7 separate regions of the Homo sapiens genome follow, and regions 1, 2, 3, 5, 6 and 7 are each linked to region 4. Evidence: promoter capture Hi-C in 16 types of primary human blood cells and fetal thymus (Javierre and others, 2016). All regions are on one chromosome and are shown on one strand. The core of a region is centred on a gene start or on the middle of the fragment in contact, and the rest is flanking DNA. Distances in the headings are between cores, read along the strand shown. Region 1 holds the start of FAM135A (family with sequence similarity 135 member A). Region 2 overlaps COL9A1 (collagen type IX alpha 1 chain). Region 3 overlaps COL9A1 (collagen type IX alpha 1 chain). Region 4 holds the start of B3GAT2 (beta-1,3-glucuronyltransferase 2). Region 5 holds the start of LINC01610 (long intergenic non-protein coding RNA 1610). Region 6 overlaps COL19A1 (collagen type XIX alpha 1 chain). Region 7 overlaps LOC105377848 (a long non-coding RNA gene).

Evidence for each region. The method cuts DNA at HindIII sites, captures the fragments that hold promoters and counts their contacts. A CHiCAGO score of 5 or more calls a contact.
Region 1: a contact is called between the fragment with the promoter of FAM135A here and the fragment with the promoter of B3GAT2 in region 4, in 5 of 17 cell types (fetal thymus, activated CD4 T cells, total CD8 T cells and 2 more). The highest score is 7.4, in fetal thymus.
Region 2: a contact is called between a fragment that was not itself captured here and the fragment with the promoter of B3GAT2 in region 4, in 4 of 17 cell types (erythroblasts, activated CD4 T cells, non-activated CD4 T cells and 1 more). The highest score is 6.3, in erythroblasts.
Region 3: a fragment that was not itself captured here is called in contact with the fragment with the promoter of B3GAT2 in region 4 in 5 of 17 cell types (erythroblasts, M2 macrophages, naive CD4 T cells and 2 more); the score reaches 6.4 in erythroblasts.
Region 5: a contact is called between a fragment that was not itself captured here and the fragment with the promoter of B3GAT2 in region 4, in 4 of 17 cell types (total CD4 T cells, activated CD4 T cells, M1 macrophages and 1 more). The highest score is 5.9, in total CD4 T cells.
Region 6: a contact is called between a fragment that was not itself captured here and the fragment with the promoter of B3GAT2 in region 4, in 2 of 17 cell types (naive CD4 T cells and fetal thymus). The highest score is 6.1, in naive CD4 T cells.
Region 7: a contact is called between a fragment that was not itself captured here and the fragment with the promoter of B3GAT2 in region 4, in 2 of 17 cell types (M2 macrophages and non-activated CD4 T cells). The highest score is 5.9, in M2 macrophages.

The regions. Positions count from the first base shown.
Region 1 is chr6:70,411,695-70,414,999 of GRCh38, forward strand. It overlaps FAM135A (family with sequence similarity 135 member A), which reads left to right and starts at 1,814. Exons shown (of 22, transcript NM_001162529.3): 1 at 1,814-2,008. It overlaps FAM135A-AS1 (FAM135A antisense RNA 1), which reads right to left and starts at 2,264. Exons shown (of 2, transcript NR_147708.1): 1 at 2,143-2,264; 2 at 1,134-1,368. RefSeq lists silencers at 1,621-1,840, 2,181-2,330. The HindIII fragment of the contact is 2,225 bases long and covers 844-3,068 here.
Region 2 is chr6:70,228,011-70,231,115 of GRCh38, forward strand. All of the region lies in intron 36 of COL9A1 (collagen type IX alpha 1 chain), which reads right to left. Among named protein-coding and RNA genes, the nearest start is that of COL9A1, 74 kb to the right of the region's middle. The HindIII fragment of the contact is 464 bases long and covers 1,367-1,830 here.
Region 3 is chr6:70,285,090-70,288,339 of GRCh38, forward strand. All of the region lies in intron 5 of COL9A1 (collagen type IX alpha 1 chain), which reads right to left. Among named protein-coding and RNA genes, the nearest start is that of COL9A1, 16 kb to the right of the region's middle. The HindIII fragment of the contact is 688 bases long and covers 1,602-2,289 here.
Region 4 is chr6:70,955,714-70,959,190 of GRCh38, forward strand. B3GAT2 (beta-1,3-glucuronyltransferase 2) reads right to left here and starts at 1,347. Exons shown (of 4, transcript NM_080742.3): 1 at 126-1,347. The coding sequence starts at 716. LOC124901229 reads left to right here and starts at 715. Exons shown (of 2, transcript XM_047419611.1): 1 at 715-815; 2 at 919-3,204. The coding sequence starts at 715. The coding sequence ends at 1,645. RefSeq lists silencers at 1-78, 549-678 and an enhancer at 607-1,122. The HindIII fragment of the contact is 6,068 bases long and covers 1-3,477 here.
Region 5 is chr6:70,391,653-70,395,127 of GRCh38, forward strand. It overlaps LINC01610 (long intergenic non-protein coding RNA 1610), which reads left to right and starts at 2,550. Exons shown (of 4, transcript NR_125857.1): 1 at 2,550-2,620; 2 at 3,033-3,391. It overlaps LOC105377847 (a long non-coding RNA gene), which reads right to left. Exons shown (of 5, transcript XR_942668.1): 2 at 3,367-3,475. The HindIII fragment of the contact is 3,343 bases long and covers 516-3,475 here.
Region 6 is chr6:70,209,930-70,213,247 of GRCh38, forward strand. It overlaps COL19A1 (collagen type XIX alpha 1 chain), which reads left to right. Exons shown (of 51, transcript NM_001858.6): 51 at 1-2,539. Among named protein-coding and RNA genes, the nearest start is that of COL9A1, 91 kb to the right of the region's middle. The HindIII fragment of the contact is 543 bases long and covers 1,400-1,942 here.
Region 7 is chr6:70,354,990-70,358,193 of GRCh38, forward strand. All of the region lies in intron 1 of LOC105377848 (a long non-coding RNA gene), which reads right to left. Among named protein-coding and RNA genes, the nearest start is that of LINC01610, 38 kb to the right of the region's middle. The HindIII fragment of the contact is 2,803 bases long and covers 150-2,952 here.

The DNA of each region.
Region 1 (3,305 bases), core at 564-3,063, 540 kb before region 4:
CACATTACATCATAGGGTAATAATGCAAACACTCCACCCAAGTTCTTTTTCATTCATGTTGGTATCTTCCAAGATTAGCACACTGCCTGGCACACAGCAGATGAGTTAACAATGTGATTTGAATAAAAAGAACGTGGAACAGGGAAAGAATCTTGGCACACTGTGTGTTTTAGGGATGCACGGACGTGGAAATGCAAATAATTGGTTGTTTACTATATTTTCCTAAGACATGGCTGGAACTAAAAAAAAAACAGAAAAAGCCTTTCCAATTTTGAGGCTAAAGTTCAAGTCACAAAACAAGCAATAAAAGCCTGTTTAGCAAGGATAGTAAAATGGTATAGGGCTATAAAAGAAGGGACAAATTAGAAATCAGGAAAGCAGGCCATTCATACAAATGCAAATAAATTGGTTCACAGGATAAGAGGACACCCAATCATGTAAAAACTGGTACAAGCCAGGCACGGTGTCTTAGGCCTGTAATCCCAGCACTTTGGAAGGCCAAGGCGGGTGGATCACCTAAGGTCAGGAGTTCGAAACCAGCCTGACCAATATGGTGAGACCACGTCTCTACTAACAATACAAAAAGTAGTCAGGCGTGGTGGTGTGCGCCTGTAGTCCCAGCTACTAGGGAGGCTGAGACAGGAGAATTGCTTGAACTCCGGAGGCAGAGGTTGCAGTGAGCCGAGATCACATTACTGCACTCCCGCCTGGGCGACGGAGCAATGCTCTGTCTCACACACACACTCGAAAAAAAAAAAAACTGGTACAAAGATATATTCAAAACCTGTCCCCTAAATGGCCTACGTTACAAGACCTCACCATTACTTTCAAATGAATGCACAAAGCTTTTCCCTTCTAATTCATTCTTATTGTGGTAAAATATACATAACAGAAAATTTACCATTTTAACCATTTTTAAGTGCACAGTTCAGTAGCATTATGTCCATTCATTGTTGTGCAACCAACACCACTATCCATCCTAGATTCATTTTTAAAACAAGAGTCGCAGCTGAAATTTTCCTTTCATTAACTCAGCTTTAGCAACATACTGAACTTTATGCACCACAAAAGTTTTTGCCAGATAAGGTTCAGAAACAGGGAAGAGTGAAATAAATCAATGATCCTTCGTGGGCTTCTGTTAACGGAATGTATTAGCGAAAGGCTTCACTTCATCAGCCCCCTCCCGCCCTTTTTGGCGTCATAAACCAAGAAACAACCAGATCAGCACCCACATCTCCCAAGATGCAAACACTGGGTCCCGAAAGGCATCTGTCCTGCCCCGGCGCAGATCCCCTGCAGCCTCCTTTCCTACTGCACAAATCGACTAGCGCAGGGACCGGGCTCTCTACCCGGGACTGCACGGAGGAGCTAAAGAGAGAAAAGGAGAAACAACATTGTGAGAAAAACGGCTAAAGTTCTCGAACTCCGTGTTTTTGCCCTCTTCTTGTTCACTACTCTTCAACCACCTCCAAGTTCCATCCCTTAAACCCACAAGCGAGCCCCTTTTCTTGACGCGCGCCTTTTATTGACGCAAACCTCCCGTTCTCGCGGGAACTTGGGAACGGGAGCCTGGTAGGGAGGACAAATCTCTCGAAATCTCAGTTGGCGCTGGAGCTGGAGGGGCAGTTGAAGCTCCTGAAGGGCGGGGCACGGAGCTTGAAGGGGCGGGGCCTAGCCTCAGAGAGGGGAGGGAAGAGGCGGGAGGAGGAGGTGAGAGAGGCCGGGGGCGGGGCCGTGCGGCCGGGGACCTGTTGATCGCAGGTATAGCCGGCTGGCCCGGGCTCCCTCGGGACTGGGGCGACTGCGCATGCTCGCTGGCCGCGCTGGGCCAGTAGCCGAGCCGCGGTGACGAACCGGCTCCGCGGTTGCGGTGTTTGCGGTTGCTGTGATGGCGATGTGAGGGGGCCCGGGGCGGGATGGTGCTGACCCGGGTCGGGCCGTCTTCTTGCAGCTGGACAACGAGCTCCTCCGTTCGACAGGCGGGGGAAGAGGCCGAGCCGGGCGAGAGGTAACCCCCTTACTGTCCCCTCTGGCTCCCCCGGCTCCCGACACCCACGACCCCTCCCTCCGTCCCTCTTGCCCAGGGGCCAGGAAGGAAGCGGCCTCCTCTTCGTCCGCCGTTCGCCCGCCGCGGCCCCTCACCCGACTGCTGGCGGTCGGAGCCTGGCCCCGGCCCCGTTGAAGGTCGGTGGGGACGGCGGTGCGGAGCGCTCTGAGGGAGGCGAGGGGCCGCGGCGCGCTGCTCTCCCGGTGCCCGCGGCCGCCCCTGCCCCTGCGCGCGTCCCTCGACCCGTTCTTCCTGAACCTCGCGCCTAGCGTGTTTGCCCTTCACCCCTGCTCCATCTTCGTCGCTCTGTCCCTCCTTTACCCGCTTTCGTGGTTCTGCTTTTTCATCCCGCGCCTCCCACGTGTCTTTTTGCCCGGGTGGTCCCTCCTTGGGAAGCAGCGTATCTCTGTGCTTCCATCCCTTGCCTGGCTCTTCCCTGTCCGGAGCTCCTTACCCTGGCCGACCAGGTTTCTCACTCTTGTTACCTCCATAATTTCTTCCTTGGTTTTATTTTCCTCTCATCCACCTCCTTTCGGTACTTCCTCCTGGTTCCCTTTTTGTTAGTTGCCGATTGTGTTTTGCTTTAGCATCGCTTTGCATTGGAGTTCATTCCATGCCCCATCTTAGCTTCGGAAACCCTCACTGCCTTCTCTTTCCTCTGGTACCCTGCTTCATCGCTTTCTGTCTAATGGCCCCTATCCTCACGTCCTTTTCCATTCTGCACCCAGTGAGTCTCTAATCTTAATTTTTTCCCCTCCAAAACTCTTCCACCCTCCCCCCCCCATTTGTATAAGTCAAGCCTCTTAACTTCATTCCATTTGTTTTACTTTTTATTAAATCTCTGAAGACTTCTTTGTGACATACCCTTCTAGTCCTTGCTGCTTTCTGCCTAAGCTAGGTATCCACTCAATGTTTCTAGTTCATCTTCCAGTTTAATAACATTTCTTCTTTCTTTACCGGTTGGTGGAAGTATCATCAAAAGAGTGACAGTAGCAACAAATCGGTTACACTTACTGATTAAAGCTTTAATTTTTAAGAATTATGTTTACCTGGCATGCCTGGGAAAGCAACTTGAGTACAGACTAAATGAAACTATAATGGGTTAAGACTTGTTAAAGGTTGACCTACAAACATACACTTAAAATTTGGAAATTTTCTTGTCCTCCATTAGGTGTAGCTGTCCAAGAACTAATCTTAAATGAAATTTAACAGAATTTCTTTTTTAAAATGTATTATTAATTTGTTTTATACATTTGCT
Region 2 (3,105 bases), core at 349-2,848, 730 kb before region 4:
AGGAAATTAGGCAGATGGGAGACAGGGATAGGAGAGAAACTTCACTAAATATCTTTTTTATACATTGTTAATTTTTGGAACTGTATAAATTTAGTATTATGAAATATAAATTAATCAATCTTAAAAACATAAAGTGTGTTGTTACAGTGTCTACATTTCACTACTGACTCATTGTTTATAGGGAACATACTTTGGATTGCAACCAACCATGTGGATTTGCAAGACATTTACAAGACAGTTGATTGAAATTGGGGATTTAGCAGCCACAGAACAAAGTTGCATTAATTATCCCAGCCCCTGAAGATACCAAACCCAGCAACTTGACCTCATTAACAAAAGGCATTAATTCCTTAGTTAACTGGTCCTAAATGATGTCTGCTGCTCTTTGTTGAAGGCATTATCCCATTATTCCGGTAGTACAGTAGTATATCATTATTCTACTATGCTGTTAGAAAATGCAATGGCACCTTGCAATAAATTCTATACATACCATTTTTTTTCCAAACATTTGTTTCAGCTTAGCCTCATTCAATATTAAGTCATATTTGTTATAATTTTAAAAACAAAGTCATGTACACAACAAAAACAGAAAAAATATCTGTATAACCATCTGCACTCAGATAGTCAAAGATCTCTAATTCTGAAGTGAATATTTAGTCACCATACTTTGATTTTAGTTGTGAATGTCTTCATGTGAATGTTTTTATGATAAACTACATTTCATCACATTTCAAAACAATTTAAATTTATATAAATACTATGACGGATTGAACTCAGGTTGAACTCATATTTACATAAGCTAGTTTTTTTAACATTCATCATCAATATGGCCTTACTATATTAGGAAGATACGACAATTAACATCTTATAAACTAATGGCATAAGCATTCTTGTTAACTTGGTAATTTAAGTGTCATATCACTATAATTCTGGAGGCTGGCAATGAGAACAGACTGTCTAAATGTGCCACATTTCTGAAGATATGAGATGAAGATTATAAATTAAAGTGTGGCTTTTACACTGATAGTAAAAGCTAAACTTGTTTGTACATTCTAGCATGAAGCCACACCAACTTTTAATGTTGCTTCGAGGACTAAGACCAGTGTCTTTGTTGTGATACTGTCTTTTGGTTATCAGTCAGAGAAAAACAAGTTTTAAGATGAGCTCCAAAACAGAGCCTATTCTGCAAACTGCTACTCCACAGCAAACCATGTATACAGGTTGGTTCTATCGACAAGGTTAATCTATTACTTCAAACCCTGATCATGTCTTATTTTGAGATGTACAAAAACCAGCTTAGGGAACTAAAGGTCCAGCTTTGTTAGCCTCCTCAGTCAAAAAATATGCATAAAGAGCTTGTAAAATAAGCTTTAGGTAAGGTATAAAGAAAAATACACAGCTTCAGCAGAAAAACAGCTCATTATGAACGAGTGGAAATTCTCATTGCTCTATAGTTGCTATTTATTTCATTTATTCATGAGCTATAATTGATGCTCTATCTCCATGTAAACAGATTATCACTGAGAAAGGTGTTAGTCATAATTATGACATGTGTGTTTTCTCAAACCTTCATTTACATATTGCAGTGTCTGTTTGATTCACACTAAAATATCTAAAAATATACAGCCTTACTCAAAGGGACTTAAAATTAATCCAAACTGTGAATATTTAAAACTAATATTTATGACACAAAAGACCAATGTAATACCAAGCAAAGTGAATATAAGGCCAGTTAGATATCTCTCAGGTTTTAAGCCTGGGCCCTAACATTTTGTATAATATTGTGTAAAGCATGTCAGTGAAAAACAGAAAAATTATAGATATAACCTAAGCTTTGACTATGATTTGAGGCATATTTCTACTAGTTCCTATTGAAAATGTTCTACTGTGTTCTTCAGAGTATTTTCTAGGAGAAAAACAGTGACTAAGACATAGGCTGAACTGTTCAAGCATTCATAATAAAACTTGTTTGTTATTTATGCAGCAGTTTCTCTGGAAAAAGGCTCTCAAAGTGACCATATGGTAGAGCAAGATTCATACCATCCCTTCTTTACCAGGGATGGGGAAAAAAGCCAGCAAGCAATACTGAAATATATCTCTCCTCTAATTGACTGAAAATTTAAGTTTCAAATTGGTGGAATGTTTATGCTCAGGGAAATTTCAGCTGTAACCCCTTGGATATTACAAAGCTATATGTTTTCTAATAAATACTCCTGTTAATGTATGTGGTGGGACAAGAAGAATCAAATCCAGCTACCTAAAATCATACATTTCCAAAAGTATGACAGTGTTAATTGATTTTAAAAATTTAATTACCGCTCCCTACCTCCACCCCAAATTCTCAGAAGTTAAACTAAGAGAAGATACAGCTTTAAAGGAATCTGATAACGAGAAAGGGATGGAGGAGGGTAGGGAGAAAAAAAATCCTTTGGAAAAGGGAAAAGAATTGTATCACTTCATGTTATAGATTATGTCATGAATACTGAAGAAAAATTAAGAGGAAATACCTCACATGATCAAGCTATACTTGACAAACGAACTTAGTGCTAGAGCCATTTCCCAGGTTCCAAATATAGAAATTTACTTTTGTTTCTTTCAAACTGAGGTTCATCTGCTAGAGCCAACCCAACCCAGCCTAGCCACAATTCACTGTTGCTAAAGCTTCCCCAAACTATTCACCATTGTTTCCAGTGGTTCTCAACCCTGGCTGCACATTAAAATCACCTGGAGAATATTTTAAAATCCCAATGCCCAAGCCAATAAAATCAGAATCTCTGAGAATGGGATCCAGATATCAGTGGTTTTAAGCTCCTCAGGCAATTCCAGTGTGCAGGCAAGGCTGACAAAGGCAGCTTTAGACTGTCCTAGCTTAGCTTTCATTTTTTAAAGAAGAGTTCTGTTACTAGCTCAAACAAAGTTAAGCTCTGCCCCAAGGAGACTTCCTGTTAACCAAAGAAAATAGGGCTGTGATGTCTATAGGCCCTATAAGTCATTCCCTTTCAGTAGGAAAATGGGCGATTGCTCCACACCAGGTGCAGCAGAACCACCAGGAGGGCCTGTTAAACTAGACAGCTAGACCTCGACCCCAGAGTTTCTGATTCAGTG
Region 3 (3,250 bases), core at 696-3,195, 670 kb before region 4:
AGTTACTTATTGCAAATGTGAGGTAATTCATTAAACTGTTTTCTCAAATATGTAATTCTCTCTGGATAAACTGGTACACCTGTTTAAATATGCAAGCTGCAATTGTGGCACAGGATAATGGGGGAATGAAATGTAATTCATCTGTGAATACAGGCTGGGTTGTTCAGAGTGCCACATAGATCAAGAGTTTCTGAACACATCTGCGCATCCACATAAACATCACCTACACGCTAATAATCATCTATACAACAACCGTTTTTTGGCATGAAATATGAATTCCAATTTGCATGCTGATTATTTTGAAGGAAGATTGGCAGAGTGCCTTGGTAAAAGTCACTTGCGTTATACATGTAAAATGCTGATTTTCACACATTTCTCATTTTCATACCTGGAATCATTCTTCTCTTTGAATACTCACTGACAAAGTATATGTGAAAAATAATTTAGTCCTTTTGGCTGGTGTGAGTACAGTGATGTTTACAACTAATTTAGTCCTTTAGTCAACATTTGTGATGTCCCAATAGAAGCCAAACACTAAGGAAACATTCTGGTGAAACCAAAGATATTCCCCTCTCCACACTGGGTTTATAATTTGCAAGACAAGAAAAATACAAGTAAATAAATAAATAAGTTTGTTTTAAATCTACTAAACAGAATATAAAATGCCCTAGCAAAAGCCATCCTTCTCAACATAAAATATTTCTCCATTGTCTCAAGGAGAAATGAGTAGTGTGTGAATGTAAGGTTCCTCACATCTGCCCAGATTTAGGATTATTCAATTATTTTCTTTTCTTTCTTTCTTTCTTTTTTATTTTTTTTAGATGAAGTCTCGCTCTGTTGCCAGGCTGGAGTGCAGTAGCACAATCTTGGCTCACTGCAGCCTCCACCTCCTGGGTTCAGGCGATTCTCCTGCCTCAGCCTCCCGAGTAGCTGGGACAACAGGCGCCCACCACCACACCCAGCTAATTTTTGTATATTTAGTAGAGACGGGATTTCACCATGTTGGCCAGGATGGTCTCGATCTCTTGACATCTTGATCCGCCTGCCTCGGCCTCCCAAAGTTCTGGGATTATAAGGTGTGAGCCACCGAATCTGGCCTATTCAATTATTTTCTATAGGACAATGTAAAGGTATAATTCAATCCTCAAGGTTACAGTAATGCCCAGCTGACAATACATTTAAGCAAGGAATTTTGGCCCCAACTCTCTATTCTTTTACCAAGGTTAACGATTTCTACTTATTTTGCCAGGTTGTTAAGAAAGATTAATAAGGTATTTAAGTCCTTCATAAGAACTAAACAAAAACTAACTGCAGACAACTATCTTTTCCTCCTGAGAGAGAATGTTAATGGCTATGAAACTTGGCTCAGTGTTAATGAGATTGGCACAAGGTTTGATTTCTGCAAACTGAATTATGATTAAATTTTACAACTATAAAACACCAAAAAACTAGCTCTTTAATAGGACAGATGTTTCATTAAGCTTTTGTCTTCAGTGACAACAAAGATTTAAAAGAATACTTGAATCCTCAGATCTCATCTTTCCTTTCAGTTTATGACCAAATGTTAGTTTATACCATCATGAAAGACCTCCTCCAAGTGAAGCTTCCTGATTACTGAGCAGGAGGCTCTGAGCTGCCTCAAAATTAGAAAATTTCCTAATTCTATGTAGACTAAACCCGGCTGTTCCAGACATAGTGCTAGGGATGTAGGCAGCACTCATATTTAACGCAATACTGTACCAAAGGCTACAGCAGAATGGTGAAAGGAGAAAGCAGTAAACTTGGAGTTAGTAGACCGGAGACATGCTCATTTATTTATTCAACGTATTTTCATATAACACATTCATGTGCTTTGGGATAGACACCATGAAAGACACAAAAATGTCTACCATATAAGGCAGTATCTAAGCAGAAAATGATTTGATGATAAATACTATAGCAGTGGAGATGACAGAAATATTTTTCTGGCTCAGGTCATCAATGAAGGGATCATATAACACGCGCATATATGTGCATGCACATATATGGGTGGGGCCCTGAAGCCCCACTTCTGTTATTATAAGCAGAGACACGGAGGGTAAAGATTAGGGTTTACATAGAGGGGTTACAACAACAAGTCCCAAGGGTAGGAAGTGGTATATAGAGAAGAGACCAAATTTGCTGGGGCAGAGTAGACATCCGATTTTTTTTTCACCTTGACTTCAGGGCTAAGGAATTTAAATATTATTTGGTATATTATTATTAAATTGTCATTGAAAGACTTTTTTTGCAAAAGATAAGGATGGGGAAAGCTTCCTTGATTTAGAGGGCATTTTGAGGAAATTCATTTGGTCATAAATGCCTAATCCTTTGAGGCAGAAGGAGGCTACCGCAGTAAAGCAACAAGAAGTGTTACACTCTGAACTATGATGAGGCATCCTAAGTTATCTGTCAGATAAAAAGAAAAATCCTCCCCACATTTTACATACCACTTCAGCTGCCATCCTCTGTTCCTCTTTACACAAAATTCAAAAAAGATGTCTACAACTACTGTCTCCAATTCTTCTCCTCATTTTCTCTTGAACCCATTCCAGTTGGGCTTTCACTCCCAACACTCCAATGGGTCTTTTCTCAAGATCACTCTCTTTGATTTCTAAATCCAATGGTCAACTACTTGACTTATCTACAGCATATGAGTCAGTTTCTTATTCTATCCTTTTTGAAATACTATTTTCCCTTGACTTTCAGGGCACCACAATCTCCTGGTCCTCTCCTATATTACAGATCCCTCCTTCTTAATCTCTTTTGACAAATGTTCCTCATCTCAGCAATCTCTAAGTGTTTTCATTTAGAGATATTTCAGGACTCAGTTCTTGGACTTCTATATTACACTTGTCTCTTGGTGATTTCCTGACTTTAAATACCATATGTATGTTGACAATTCCCAGAGTTCTATTCCCAGATGGACCTATCTGTTGAACTCCGAAAGCATATATCTGCCTATTTACCAACTTCATCTAGATGTCTAGTAACGATCAAACTAACTCCAAAACCCAAACTAACTCCTGATACTCTCCCTGACACCTGCTCTTCCCACAGCGTTTCTCATGTCAGTAAATGGCACGTCTATACTTCCAATTACTCGCGCCTAAAGTAATGGTGTCATCTTTGATTCCTCTTTTTCTCTCATACTCCAAATCCTGTTTTCCTTACCTCAAAATATATTAGGTTTGGATCACTTTGCATCACCTCCACCACTACCACCCTGGTC
Region 4 (3,477 bases), core at 97-2,596:
TGCGCGCACGGAGAACTGAGAACTCAAAAGTGCACCCGGAGTGCAAGGGGCGTGTGACTGCAGCCCGGCCGGCCCGGAGGCCCACTCCCGCCCTCGCCCACCCAGCGGGGCAGGCTGGCCTTTACCTCCTGGAAGAGCTCCAGACTATAGGTGTTGTCGTCGTCAGCGAAGAAGAGCACGCCGGGCTGCGCGCGCTGGTGCTGGTGCCTCTGGCGCAGCCAGGCGAGGCCCGCGTTGCGCTGCTCAGTGGCGCGCGGCAGCCCGGGCCGCTTGTAGCGCCGCGGCGTGGGCACGTGCAGGTGAGTGCTGGGCAGCCCGGCCCGCGCCAGGAAGCGGCTCACCAGCTCGCTGCGCGCCGCCGCGTCCTCCACCAGGATCCAGTGCAGCTGCGCCACCTGGCGGAACGTGTTGGCCAGGCGGGTCAGCTCCGCTTTCTGCACCGGGCGGCTGTAGGTGGGCGTGATGGCATAGATGGTGGGCAGCTGCGGCTCCGGCTGTGGCTGCGGCCGAGACTGGTTGCGCTTTTGGGTCCCGTGAGCCGGGCCGCCCCTGCGGAGCGGGAGTCGGGCGCCCCCGCGGCCCACCGCGTAGGGAGAGAAGTAGGGGCGCGGGGTGAGCGGGGGCACTGGCCTGCGCGTGTCCACGTCGAGCATGATGATGACAATTAGGATCCAGGGCAGGAGGATAAAGAAGCGGGTGAAAAGCGCGGACTTCATGGTGCACGCTCCCTGGCCTCTCGGACACCCCAGAGAGGGGCGAGCCGAGGGACCCCAGTGCGCAGCTTGGACAGCGGCGGCGCCAGCACTTAGGGAGTGGTGATGGGTGCGCTGTCCATGGGGCCGAGGGCGCTGCAGAGACCTGGAGCCGCGGGGCTCACTACCTGGGCGTGGAGGAGCGGCAGGTTCGCGCAAGCTAGAGCGACAAGGGGTGCAGGCGGGCGGGCAGGGGCTGCCCCCGACTCCAGGTGAGCTGGCGGGAAGCGGGACTCGGTCCAGCCGCGCGCCGCCGGTCCCGGAGTTGTGCCGAGTGCGGGAAAGGCGCTGATCCCCACCGCGCTCTTTCTGAAGAGTGGAAGCCGAGAAGCGGCACCCGGTGCGCCTCGCCGCTCCAGTCCGGCGGTGCTGCGGGCACAAGGGCTCCAGCCGCGGGCCCCCAGGACGCTCTCTGGGACGCCTTCGAGGGCGGGCGGCGGCGCTGGGGGCTTTCCTTCCTCACATTCCCGCCGGGGTGGCGAGGAGCGGGTGGAGACGCTGGGGGTTGTGTCCCGGCTGTGTTCGCGCGCCGCAGCGGAAGCCTGCTCTCAGTCCCTTGCTCTTGTCTTCTCAGAACCTCTCCGGATCCAGCAGCAAGATCCCAAAGCAAGGAAAGAAAGAAAAAGCGAGGGGGCGGGGGCGCTGCAGAATCCAGCGTCCTCCCAAGTCCTCCTGTGGGAAGACAGCAGCGCTGCTACTGGTGGAGAGGGGCTGCGAGAGGGAGGCGCGGAGGGACCCCTTGGCTCTCCGCCGGGTCTGGCGCTAACGGCCCCGCGAGCAAGCTCGGGAGGCGGCCGCTGCACCGCGGGTGGAGGAGCGGGAGGAGCGTCCCCGCGGGGCTGCACGACCTCCTGGAGGGGGTGATGCTCGTTCACCTCTCTTCAGCTTTGTGAAATACCGCAAGGTCTTTGGAGATGAGCCAGGAAAATCCATTCACGTGCGGAAATTTGCCGGGCTACGCGCGTTGCTGCTGATGCCTAGGGTTCGGAGTGAAAGGAGGGGAGAAAGCGAAGGGATTCCTCCTCCTGCTCCCAGCTGCTGCGTTGATGTGCTGGGGTGTATCGAACAGCGGCAACAAAAAGCGCTTTCACTGCAAGGCAGACATCAATAGGAGCCCACGGAGATGGAGGGGTGCTGCACATAGGTGTTTGGCATGTGAGACAGTCCATAAGAAAGAATCAATTCGGAGGGCTGCTGCCTGACTGCAGTTTGATCATGGCGGGTGGGGGCGGGTGGAATTCCTAAAACTCCAGCCGAGCATGTTTAACTTATTTTTCTTCAGTAATTTGGAGTCACGGTCCCTCCCAGTTCTTCGCTGTCACCGGAATTACTCCGTTTGGCTCTCCCAAGGCTCCTGTCAAGAAGGCCTAAGAAGTAGAATGGCCTTCATTTTCAGGATAAGGAAGCTGAGGTTCAGGGTTTAAAATGATTTCTCTGAGGTCAGTGGCAAGTGGCATATGGAAATAGAACGTGGGTCTCCTGCGTGTGTCTATAGCTAGTGGCGTCCTCACTGCATGGCCTGCAGAAATCCCACCCAACACAGCCGGGCCGGTTTGGCCTTCCTACATATAAAGATGGTGCGATTGAAATCAAACAGAGTGTACCATGACGAATAGAACCATGATAGGGTCTGGAAGACCCCAAGTAAACAGTTGGCACTTAGTTTAGACACTTTTTGCTGTCTAGCTGGCCTACTAGCTGAGTGCCTGACCTTCTGTAACTTACCAGGAAGAAGGGCTGTGCTTCCCAGGCAGGTCCCAGGGAAGTGCTTGCAAAGCAGAAGGAAAGCTCCAGACTGTTCTGCCCTAGCCTATGATAAATAATTTCTGAGCCCATCTTGTCTGGGTTGTCTGCCTTTCTCGGGCTTGTTCACAAATAAATCTCTCTCCGACTGTGCGTTCTGGTGCAACTGAGAGCTCTGGGGCGAATGGCTCTCCAGCTTTTCTGACAGCTCCTCTTCTCCCAGTCCTACCCCTGAACCCCCCACCTGTTAAAAGGCATTGGCTCATCTGTGAATTTCCCTAACTTCCTCTTCAGATTCTGAAACGTGAGAGTGAAATTTCAGACTAACACCCAGCCACCCCAACAACTCCCTAGAGCTAGCCTTCTGTCCCAACTTCCCTGTGCCATCCACAACTCATACATTAAACTCTGCAGATTAGTGCATCCTAAACATAGAAAACAACGAAGCCATTAGACCTCTTCCCATTCTCTCGAATAGCCTAATGTGCCTCTGAATATAACACAACCTTGGAAATGTATTCTGCACCAGCATCATGCCAGGATGGGGAAGAGGAAAGAAGTCAAGGCCTCCCTTTAAGAAAAGGTTTTTCTTAGGAAGCAGTGCACCCCTCTCCCCTAAGTTACTGAAGTCTGGTTCATCCTGTTGGAAATTTTAAATTTGGTTAAAATGCCTTGTGTTTGCTGGAATAAAATTCATGTTGTTACTGAATTGTACTAAAAACATCACTAACCTTTGTTAGTGGGGAACTTTTGGTTGGTCCAACTATGCCATAAAACCTATTTGCTATTACATCCTCTCCAGGAACCAGGGCTATTCAGAGATGAAACACTGTGTGTGTGTGTGTGTGTGTGTGTGTGTGTGTGTGTCTGTGTGTGTGAGAGAGAGAGAGAGAGAGAAAGACAGACAGACAGGGTCTCTCTTCAATGCCAAGGCTGGGGTGCAGTGACTTGAACACAGCTCACTTCAGTCTCGATGTCCTGG
Region 5 (3,475 bases), core at 937-3,436, 560 kb before region 4:
AAACTGTCCCCCAGAGTTCCCCAGCAGGATCAAACTCCAATTGCCCACAGTGATAATGTGATAACACACCTTTATTGGTTTTCTTCCCATCTGTTTAACTTCCCCATTATCTACTGGTGTTTCTTGGGAACATATCCCAAACAAAACCCTTTCCACTCATTGCCACAGGTCTGTCTCTGGAGGCACACAAACTAAGACAGCAGGGAAATTAAACTTAAGAACCTCCAAATACCTGATTCTGCTATGCCTCCAAGATAATGTAGCCATGCTCCAGATTTCTTCAGGGATGTCTGAGAGTTAAGCTCCTCTCAAAATCCAAAATAGGAAACAGAAATAAAAGTCCTCGGCCTGTTCGGCCCTCACTTAGTTAGCACATGTAAAACTGAAACACAACTTTCCTGAATCTCTTCCTTCTCTCTCTTTCTTCTCTCCCCTTCCCCTTTTATTCCTAGAAAAATAGACAAGCTTTTCTTTAACTTTCCCTACATCCTGTCTTCCTTCCCGGTTGGAAAGCAAGCTTTCTGAGTTCACTACCATTGACTGAAGGGACATCCTTTCTATACTACGGTAGAACTCTGTGTTCTAGGTCATCCAGGCTCAGCCCTGGGTATGTTAAGTAGGAAAGATTAAGGAATTTATAAAATTCTCTCTCAAAACTTGTATACATTTATTTTTTAATTTCAGAAACTATCACTTGTCTTTACCTTTAATTCTTTCTGAAACATCCATTTCCCTGGTAGAGGTTAGACAGTAAAGAAAAAATACATAGGAGAAAAAAGGAAACAAAAGGCAAATGAAGAACACAAAATTTCAGGACCTATTCATAGAAAAATAGGCCAATTTCAAACAAACAGTTCTCCCAAGACTCAAAGAAACTAAAGGCAAGTTGGCTTTCCTTAAAAAAAAAAAAATTATCCTGAAAGAATAACAAGAGATCGATCAAAAGAGAGATGAAGCAAGAACAGGAGATAAACAGTGGGTGTGTGGAGCTCAGAGATGAATAGAAGCATAAGATGAAATTATTACAGAGGTGAAATTCTCATTAGAGTCAACAAATGGTAACACATATATATGGATAAAAATACAGTCTAGGACAAAAAGAAAGCCCTTGAGTAAATAACATAAAACGAATTGGAAAAGAACAGAGATAAAATAAGAAAGGAGGTGGTATGGACATTAAACAAATAATCACTTTCATGGAAGAAAATAATATATGGAATGGGAAAAATTCAAATATATAATTGAATATAATTTTCTTGAAACAAAATCTCAAATCTATAGATTACAAAGACATAGCTTAGCCAAATTCCTGAAAATGTTGATGAAGGCTAATTAGTAAGATAACTTAAAAATGGATTTAGAGCAGCAGGTTGTAAGAAGTTACACAGCAGAAAAGAAGCACATGAACCAACTCTACCAAAATGAGAAAGAATAGGAGGAAATGAACTGAAGAGGTATTTAAGATCCTGGCATTTAGTAAGCCGACCATGGTATGGTTGTTAAGAGGCCAGCGCTGTAAACTGCCTAGATTTGGATCCCATCCCTGCCGTTTATTACCTGTGTGACCAAAGCAAGTTATTTTGCCTCTTGGTGCCTCAATTTTCTTAATTTTAAAATGGAGGTGATATTAGCCACCCACATAACACAGTGACTGTGAAAATTGAGAAAATACATTTAGTCTTCTTTAAAAAATGCCTTTCATATTCAGCATTGTCAATTATTATTAAGTTCAACAGAGCTTGGTGATTCTCTGAAGGTGAGAGAGTAAGAGACAGGGAAGACACGAGTTGATTCCTAGGTTTCAGGATGTGACAATCATAATGCCATTCACTATAGAGAGAATACAGAACAAGGGTAATACAGAAGAAATGATTTTTTTTAATTCTCAATTGATATAGTCCCCACCCAAACCTCATCTTGAACTGTAGTTCCTGTAATTCCTATGTGTCGTGGGAAGGACCAGGTGGAGATAATTGAATCATGAGGATGATTTCCCCTATCCTACTCTCGTGATAGTGAATTAGTTCTCACGAGATCTAGTGGTTTCATAAGGGGCTCTCCACCAACGCTCTGCACTTCTCCTTGCTGCCACCATGTGAAGAAGGACATGTTTGCTTCCCCTTCTGCCATGATCGTAAGTTTCCTGAGGCCTCCCAGCTATGCTGAACTGTGAGTCAATTAAACCTCTTTCCATTATAAATTATCCAGTCTTGGGTATGTCTTTATTAGCGGTGTGAGAACAGACTAATACATCAATTATAATGGATTCATTTTGAACATGTTAAGATTGACTTATCTTTGAGAAGATAGGTAGAGAGGTCCTGTGGGCACCTAGAACTCACCTAGGGCTGAAGGCAGGTGTACATGGCTTTAATGTGTGTGCAGAAGCCATGAATGTGGATAAGATCTCCTTTGTGATGTACATAATGAAAGAAGAAAAAGGGCGAGAACTGAACCTGTGGAATATTCCCATTTATCAGCTGGCAGAAGACTAAGGCCTGTGACAAAGGATCAGTGGAAAAATAAAGAAGAAGGAGAGGATAAATGATGAATCAAAGGCACAAGGACAGGCTGGGCACAGTGGCTCATGCCTGTAATCTCAGCACTTTGGGAGCCCAAGGTGAGTGGATCACTTGAGCTCAGGAGTTCAAGACCAGCTTGGGCAAAATGGGAAGACCCCATGGTGGGAGGGATATATACATATATGTATATACATAAATAGTTGTGTGTATATATACACACACATATACAGTTGTATATACGTATATATATATATAGTTGTGTATATATACACACACACACATATATATATAACAAGTACATTGGAGAGGCTGTGTTCAGGAGCACAGATGAACAGGTTGGCCTTTGCCAAGGGAAGCACATATTTTCCACCGAGAAAGAGAACGATGAGGGTGTGCGTGGAAGCAGGTTAAGTGTGTAGACTGTAGTTGGTAAAGCTGAAAGAGCTCTTACTGAAAGATTCTCCCCGGGGCCTGAAAGTTTAAGGGAATGAATAACTCCGCCCTCCTCAGGCCCAGTCCCAAGGTGCAAGGCCACTTGTGCTAGCAGCATGCGTCAGCAAGATAGCAGAAGCAGGAAGAGAGCTGGCCGGAAGATATGTACCCTGTGAAGACCGAGAGAGAGGCCGTCCAGGTACCACGTAGCAGTTACATCAGACTGAGACACTTCCTGTTTACAGGAGACTATAAAACCCCTGCCCCATCCTCATTTGGTGCTGATGCCATTTTCAGCCTCAGCACGCCTGCACCCAGGCGCTCATTAAAACAGCATGTTGCTCCCCACTGCCTCGTGTTGTCTGTTGGCGCGCTGTCGGGGTTCGAACCGATACAAGAACCTTCCACCTACCTGGTGCTTTGGCCTCATCTATAAGGTAAAAGCAAAGCCATCTGTTGCTAAATATTGGAAACTCTGTGTAGCAGTGAAGATTAGAAGTAGTTAATGATTGGAGGATGAC
Region 6 (3,318 bases), core at 421-2,920, 750 kb before region 4:
AATAATTTGGGCCCCAAAGTAGGGTGGGAAGTTTTCCTCTAAATGACTTGATGGTTGCCAAATCCCTTGCACCATTTTATTCCATTCCAAAACATGTGTTTATTTCCACATAGATGTTAATGATGTTCAAAGCAGGGGAGAAGAATTATTCAATTTCATGAATAACTCTTGTTTGCACTCCAGAAAACAACATACATGTTTAAATACAAAATAATTATGGGCCATGACGACGATTAATATTAAAACTGTGATTTCCATATACAAGTATGTTTGAGTTCCAATCTTACATTTTATACCAAGTTCAAAACACTTTCAGATAGAAGTCTTTCTATGCAAAGATTAAAGTATGACTTCAATTCATATTTATGGCCTTTGGAATCCAAAGAAAAACAGAAGAATAATTCATGGATTTGTTCATTGTTCTTTCCAACTGAAGGCAGTAACCATTACTTCTAACCGTAACACAAACACAGCAAGTTTTAACCTTTTAAACTTTTCACTTTGTGAGCAAAGTAACCCCATAAGTTTATTTCCCTATTTCATGGTATTGTTTAAACTTTAAAATTTTAGTCACTTAAAGAACTTAAGCAATTATATTAAAATACGTTGTCTGTGAAAATTATCATTTGATATTTGGCTTATAAAGTAATTTTTATGAATCTGTTTTATGAGTTAGGTAAGATTTAGCCTTTCTGCAGTCTGTCTCATCTGTTGGGAACCTGTGATATACCTCCATTTGTCCACAAGATGGTGTTTAAAACAATTTGTTCAGAAGAACTGAGCAAACTAACAGAAATACAAGGCTACGAACAGTTTAGTGGACAACTAAATCAGACTCTTGCCTTTGCACTTTTTTTTAACTTTTGTAGATAATTTTTGTTAATTTGTTTTGTTAATTTATGTTTTTCCTAATTTTAAGCATCTTTATGAAACAGGCACAGTACCCTTTGGTTTGTTGACTGTTTTGATTTTATTTCTTTGGTGGATATATATGTACTTATACACTTAGTTAACATGCAGATTAACTAGTCATAACTGTTTATACACCACTCTCATATTTTAGTGATCAATATGAAGACAGCTAAATAATTATCCTACTTTTTAGACAGGACAGATACTCTCAACAGACAAGAAAAAAGATTTAGCTTATCACAAGAAGCAGACAATTTATAAAACTACACAATGTCTAAACTCTATGTTGCTCAGTGTACTTAAAATTTTACAGTTATATTTGTATAACGTTTATATTTTTCTAGAATACATCACTATTTACAAAAGTACAATTAGAAACACTGTTTTTTTTAAGTACCGTTTTTATTTTCATAACACTAATAATACACTGGGATTGAGAATTTCTGTTAAGTGTTTTGCTGACGTTGTTTTAATGAATACTCAAAAAAGCTTTGCAGATTTGTCCATTGCTCTTGTTCTTAAATTATTTTTCATACTTGTCTGTATCCACCTTCTGAAGACACACAAGTGTTTACTGTCGCAGTTTCCCAGCGTTATTTCTTAATACTTGAGTGTTGACACATTTTTGTACCATCCCCCTTTTGTACCATCTCTGCTCACAAAGATTATATGCAGGCTTTGAAGAGGAGGAGATGCAGAAGATAATTGAATTTGTATCTTGTATGCCTATGTAATTCAAAGTGACTTAGTCCATTGAATTGTGTTCATTTATTAGTTGGCTGGTTAAGATAGCATTAATTATCTTAAATTTATTCAACTACTAAAAGTCTCAGGCAATAGGACAGATGAGTGTCATCATTTTTATTGTGTGGCATACTTGGAGCTATAATCCAAACGTTTTACTCAACAAAATAATGCTAGAGTAACTGATCAATTTGGTTAAATTGAATGAAGAACCAAGTGAACACAGAGAAAACTTATTCGGACAAGTAGACCCAGCACAGCAAAAATTTGTCTGAAAGATAAGACAAGCTTATAAGACCAAAGCTAAGTCTAAGAAAATCTAAATGGAAAAAAAATTGCGTGTTCAGATCCAATAGTGAGTGATGTGGTACAACTGGAGGAGTTAGCTACTTGCTTCATGAATTTGTCAAAAGTGAATACTAATAAAGTGGGAGGCTTCACTAAATGAGGGGGTAAATAAGATTTAAGTTTATCAGAAGTGTGTGTATTGTGTGACCATACTAAGCTTCTGGGTGTAAGTAAAGATGCTGGCTATTTTACAACTTTTTATTGTATTGTGTTATGCAAAGTACATTTTGGAGATAAATGTTTTTCAGCACATTAATGTCTTTAAATTCAGGTTGTATTGGGTGTATTTTACAACTATTTATTTTTAAATAACATTTAGGGTGTGTTTTCCCCCATTTTGTTTGTTCTCTATCTTACCTCATCAAACTCTTTACGATTTAATTGAATATACTCATGTTAAGTGCAATGGCATTAGTTTTATTCAAAATCCCACATGGGCATAATGCTTTGAGGCCTTGATTCCTACATGTTCATTATGCATAATGAGCTTGTCACCTATCTCAGCAATAAAGGTTCTGACCCTATGTCAGGGAAATCTAAGGTGCAATTATTAAGGCCATATCTACTCTTCATCACTTGCCATGGCTGAAGCTCCACACTTCAGTCCATTTTGTTTGGTGTCAACCATGGGGATGCTCCAGAAGCACTCTTGGCTAACCATGAGCCCCACAGGTGTCCAAGGAACGTTAATTGGTCTATTGCAGGGTTCATGTTTGTACCATCATTATAGTTTTCTTTGTCACATGAATCATTGCTCAGCTTGAAATAATCAAGTTTGTCACCCATCTCCCTGGCAGTTCATAAAAAGCCTAGTCTAATTATTTCAGATGAGAATTATAAGCAGAATCAAAAGCCCAAAAGCAGGCAGTCCTTTGGGACTTTTGTCCCCCAGAGTGATCATCTCACTAAAATCATTTGAGACTTTTTGCTATAGAGGTCCCTGAGGGAGATAAGAAATAACACAATTAACTTTTCTCATCCATAGAAGCTTTTACACCATGAGTGATAAGGTAATAGGCAATAAGTAGTTAAATACATAGCAGGTTTTCTTAACAGAAATTAATTGCATCAAAACGTGCCAGAGGATTTATATGTTTACCTATACCGGGTAATAACTTACATAGTTCTTAACTATTCCTATCTTCAGGCCCCCTTTGGATAAATTAACTAGGTGCTCTCTAAAGAATGTTGTTGTCTTTTCACACACATATTTTCAACTTAAGAGACAAAATGGAATTTCAAATATATCTCAGAAAGAGAGGTAATTTGTTTGAGACAGTTTCCCTCCCTTGTTCTCTCTCCAGCTATGTTTTG
Region 7 (3,204 bases), core at 301-2,800, 600 kb before region 4:
GAGCATGGTAGAAAAAGCCTAGATTACCTTGAATAGGTTATTAGTAGAAATGTGGACTTGAAGGATGCTCTGGTGATCTCTGAGAAGAAAATGAGGAACCCAATATTGGAGACTGAAGGAAGGAGAATCCTTGTTATATAGAAGCAGAAAGCTTATATATATTGTGTTCTGCAGTTATGCTGAAGGCAGACTTTGTAAGTGACAAATCTGGTCATTTAGCTGAGGAAATTTTCAAGCATCATGGTGAAGGTATGACCTGTTTTTTCTTGCAGCTTATAGTGAAATGAAAGATGAGAGAGAGAAATTGAGGGTGGACCTATTAAAAAGAAACCAATACTTGGTGATTTTATAAATTCTACACCTATTTAAATGGAAACAGACTAAAATTAAGAGATTCACTGTCAGGAAGTCATGTTATAAAAAAAGAGCCCAGGATGTGTCTGTAAAACCTTTTGGTAATACCTCAGAAAACTCAAAAGGTTGTAATATTTAGTTACACAAAAGACTACTTGAAGAGATCAAAAGTGTGACAGATCAATCTCCTTGGCCATCTCAACAGAAGCCATAAATAAAGATGGTATTATCTAGGAAAGATCTGTGTACAAGGTGAATCCCATGACATACATGGGAGACTCACAAAGTTCCTAAGAATATTAAGACAACAGAAATTCTGCCAGCTAGGACTGAAAGAGATAGAGAGTACAAAATTTTCAAAAACTGTCAGTCCATAAAAATTCTACCTGCAGAAAACAGACTGCTATGGTCTGAACATATGTGTCCCTTCAAAATTTATGTTAAAATCCTAATCCCCAAGGCAATAGTGTTAGGAGGTGGGACCTTTGTGGAGGGGGTTGGGTAATGAAGGCAGAGCCTTAATGAACGGGGTTAGTGTCCATATAAACGAGACCTCAGAGCCTGCCTTGCCCTTCCACCATGTGAGGATACAGCAAAAAGATGTCGTCCATAAGCAATAGCCCCTCACCAGACACTAAACCTGTGTATTGATCTTGGACTTCCCAGCCTCCAGAACTATAAGAAATAGATTTCTATTGTTTGTAAGTCACCCAGGATATGGTCTTTTTATTACAGCATCTGAATGGACTAAGACACAGACTGATAAAACTACCCTGTTGCGAACATGTGTTGCCTTTCCTAAACAAAAAAAGTGTGACTCACAGGGAAGAATCAAGAACCACAGAACATTTTTTTCTCCAGGCCTTGAAATCCAATGGAGTTTGCCCGGCTGGGTTTTTTAATTGCTTAGAACCAGTGATTCCTTTTATTCTCCCATCTTTCTCCCTTTTTGAATGTGAATATCTGTAAGTGTTATCCTGTGCCTATCCCACTGTTGTATGTTTGGAGCAGATAACTTTTTTTTTTTTTTTTTTTTAGTTTTACAGGTCCAAAGATTGAGAGGAACTGTGCTTCAGGGAAGATTATACCCAGATTCTACCTACATATAATTTAAATTATTTGGGTGATTAGATTTGGGGTTTTAGAGCTCATGGAATTTAGACGAGATTTTGAACTTAAATTGATGCTGTAATGGGATGAGAACTTTGGTGATTTTGGGATGAAATAAATGTATTTTGTGTATGAAATAGACATGAATCTTTAAGGGCCATAAGGTGGACTGTGGTAAGCAGAATAATTACCACCACCACCACCCTCTCCAAAGACTTCCATATCCTAATTTCCAGAAAAACAGTTAGTTTAGATTGTAAAAGGGAAGGGACTTTGCCAATGTGATTACAGTTATGGACATTAAAATAGGGATATAAGGCCGGGCGTGGTGGCTCATGCTTGTAATACCAGCACTTTGGGAGGCCAAGGTGGGCGGATCACCTGAGATCAGGAGTTTGAGACCAGCCTGGCCAACATGGTGAAACCCCATCTCTAGTAAAAATACAAAAAAAAAAAAAAAACTGGGCATGGTGGCAGGTGCCCGTAATCCCAGCTATTGGGAGGCTGAGGCAGGAGAATCTCTTGAACTGGGGAAGCAGAAGTTGCAGTGAGCTGAGATTGTACCATTGGAGTTTTGCTCTTGTCACTGAGGTTGGAGTGCAATGGTGCAAATGGTGCAATGGTGGTACCCAGAGCAGAAAAGCCAGCTGAGCCTACCAGACCTCTGACCTATATAATAGTGAAATACATTTAGTTATTTTAAATTGTTGCGTTTGTGACAATTTGTTACGGCAGCAATAAGCATCTAATACATATTCACATCCAGAGATTAAAATCATTTAAAGGAGTTGATCCTCACTGTCTAATAGTATAATAATAATAATCCCATACTTTCATGTAAATTATAATCAAAAGATCATTTTAAATGGCTTTGTCTTTCACAGAAGGAATTTCAAAAATTTATTTTGTGCTTATGCTGAAAGCTGGCATTCCCTCTATTATTTGCTGCTCCTTTTTAGAATAATCAATTCACAAATTTAAGATTTAAAATGTGCTTCTCCAAGATTGGCCAAATCACAAGACAGCAGTACTCTTATGAGTTTCTCCCTTGAGTCATAAGTGGTGAGTTCGTGTCCCAGAAGATCAAAATGGCGTACTGAAAAAGAGCTCTTGGCTAAATCAAAAGGCCTGAATTCTAGTCCTAACTCTGACATGAAAGAGCAAGGATGCCTCTTTGGAGGAAATTAATTAACCTCTATGGATCTCATTTTCTTCCTTTTTAGAATAAAGCAGTTGGAGATTCAGGGTGGCTTCCATGATGAAGTATTGTTTGTTTGAAATCTGAAGTCTTGGTAGCATTAATGAGACAATTAGGTGGAGAAGCAGTCCAGAAGACTCAGCAAACCCTGTTTTATATGCCACTTGCTACAACATTAGTCTCCCGATGAATTTAGTGACCAAAAACAGAGCAAAAATAAAGATCTATAAATAGGCCTAGAAGAATGTATGCCACTTGGCAGTGTTAACCTCTGAGGAGGGCTATAGGGAAGCTTTATGGAGTAGTGCTCAAGGGCATAGACTTTGTTACCAAACCTTCTAAATTTAAGTTTTGGCTCTGCCACTTCCCAGCTGTGTGTTTTCTCTACATCTCTCAGTTTCCTCATCTATAAAATGTATGTGTGCATGCACAATTGCTTAAGACAGATCTTGGCATAATATGCGCTCTATAAATTAGCATATACTATGTAAATATTTGTCAATGTTATTGCTACTGGCAGAATTGTGTCCCCCAAAACTTCA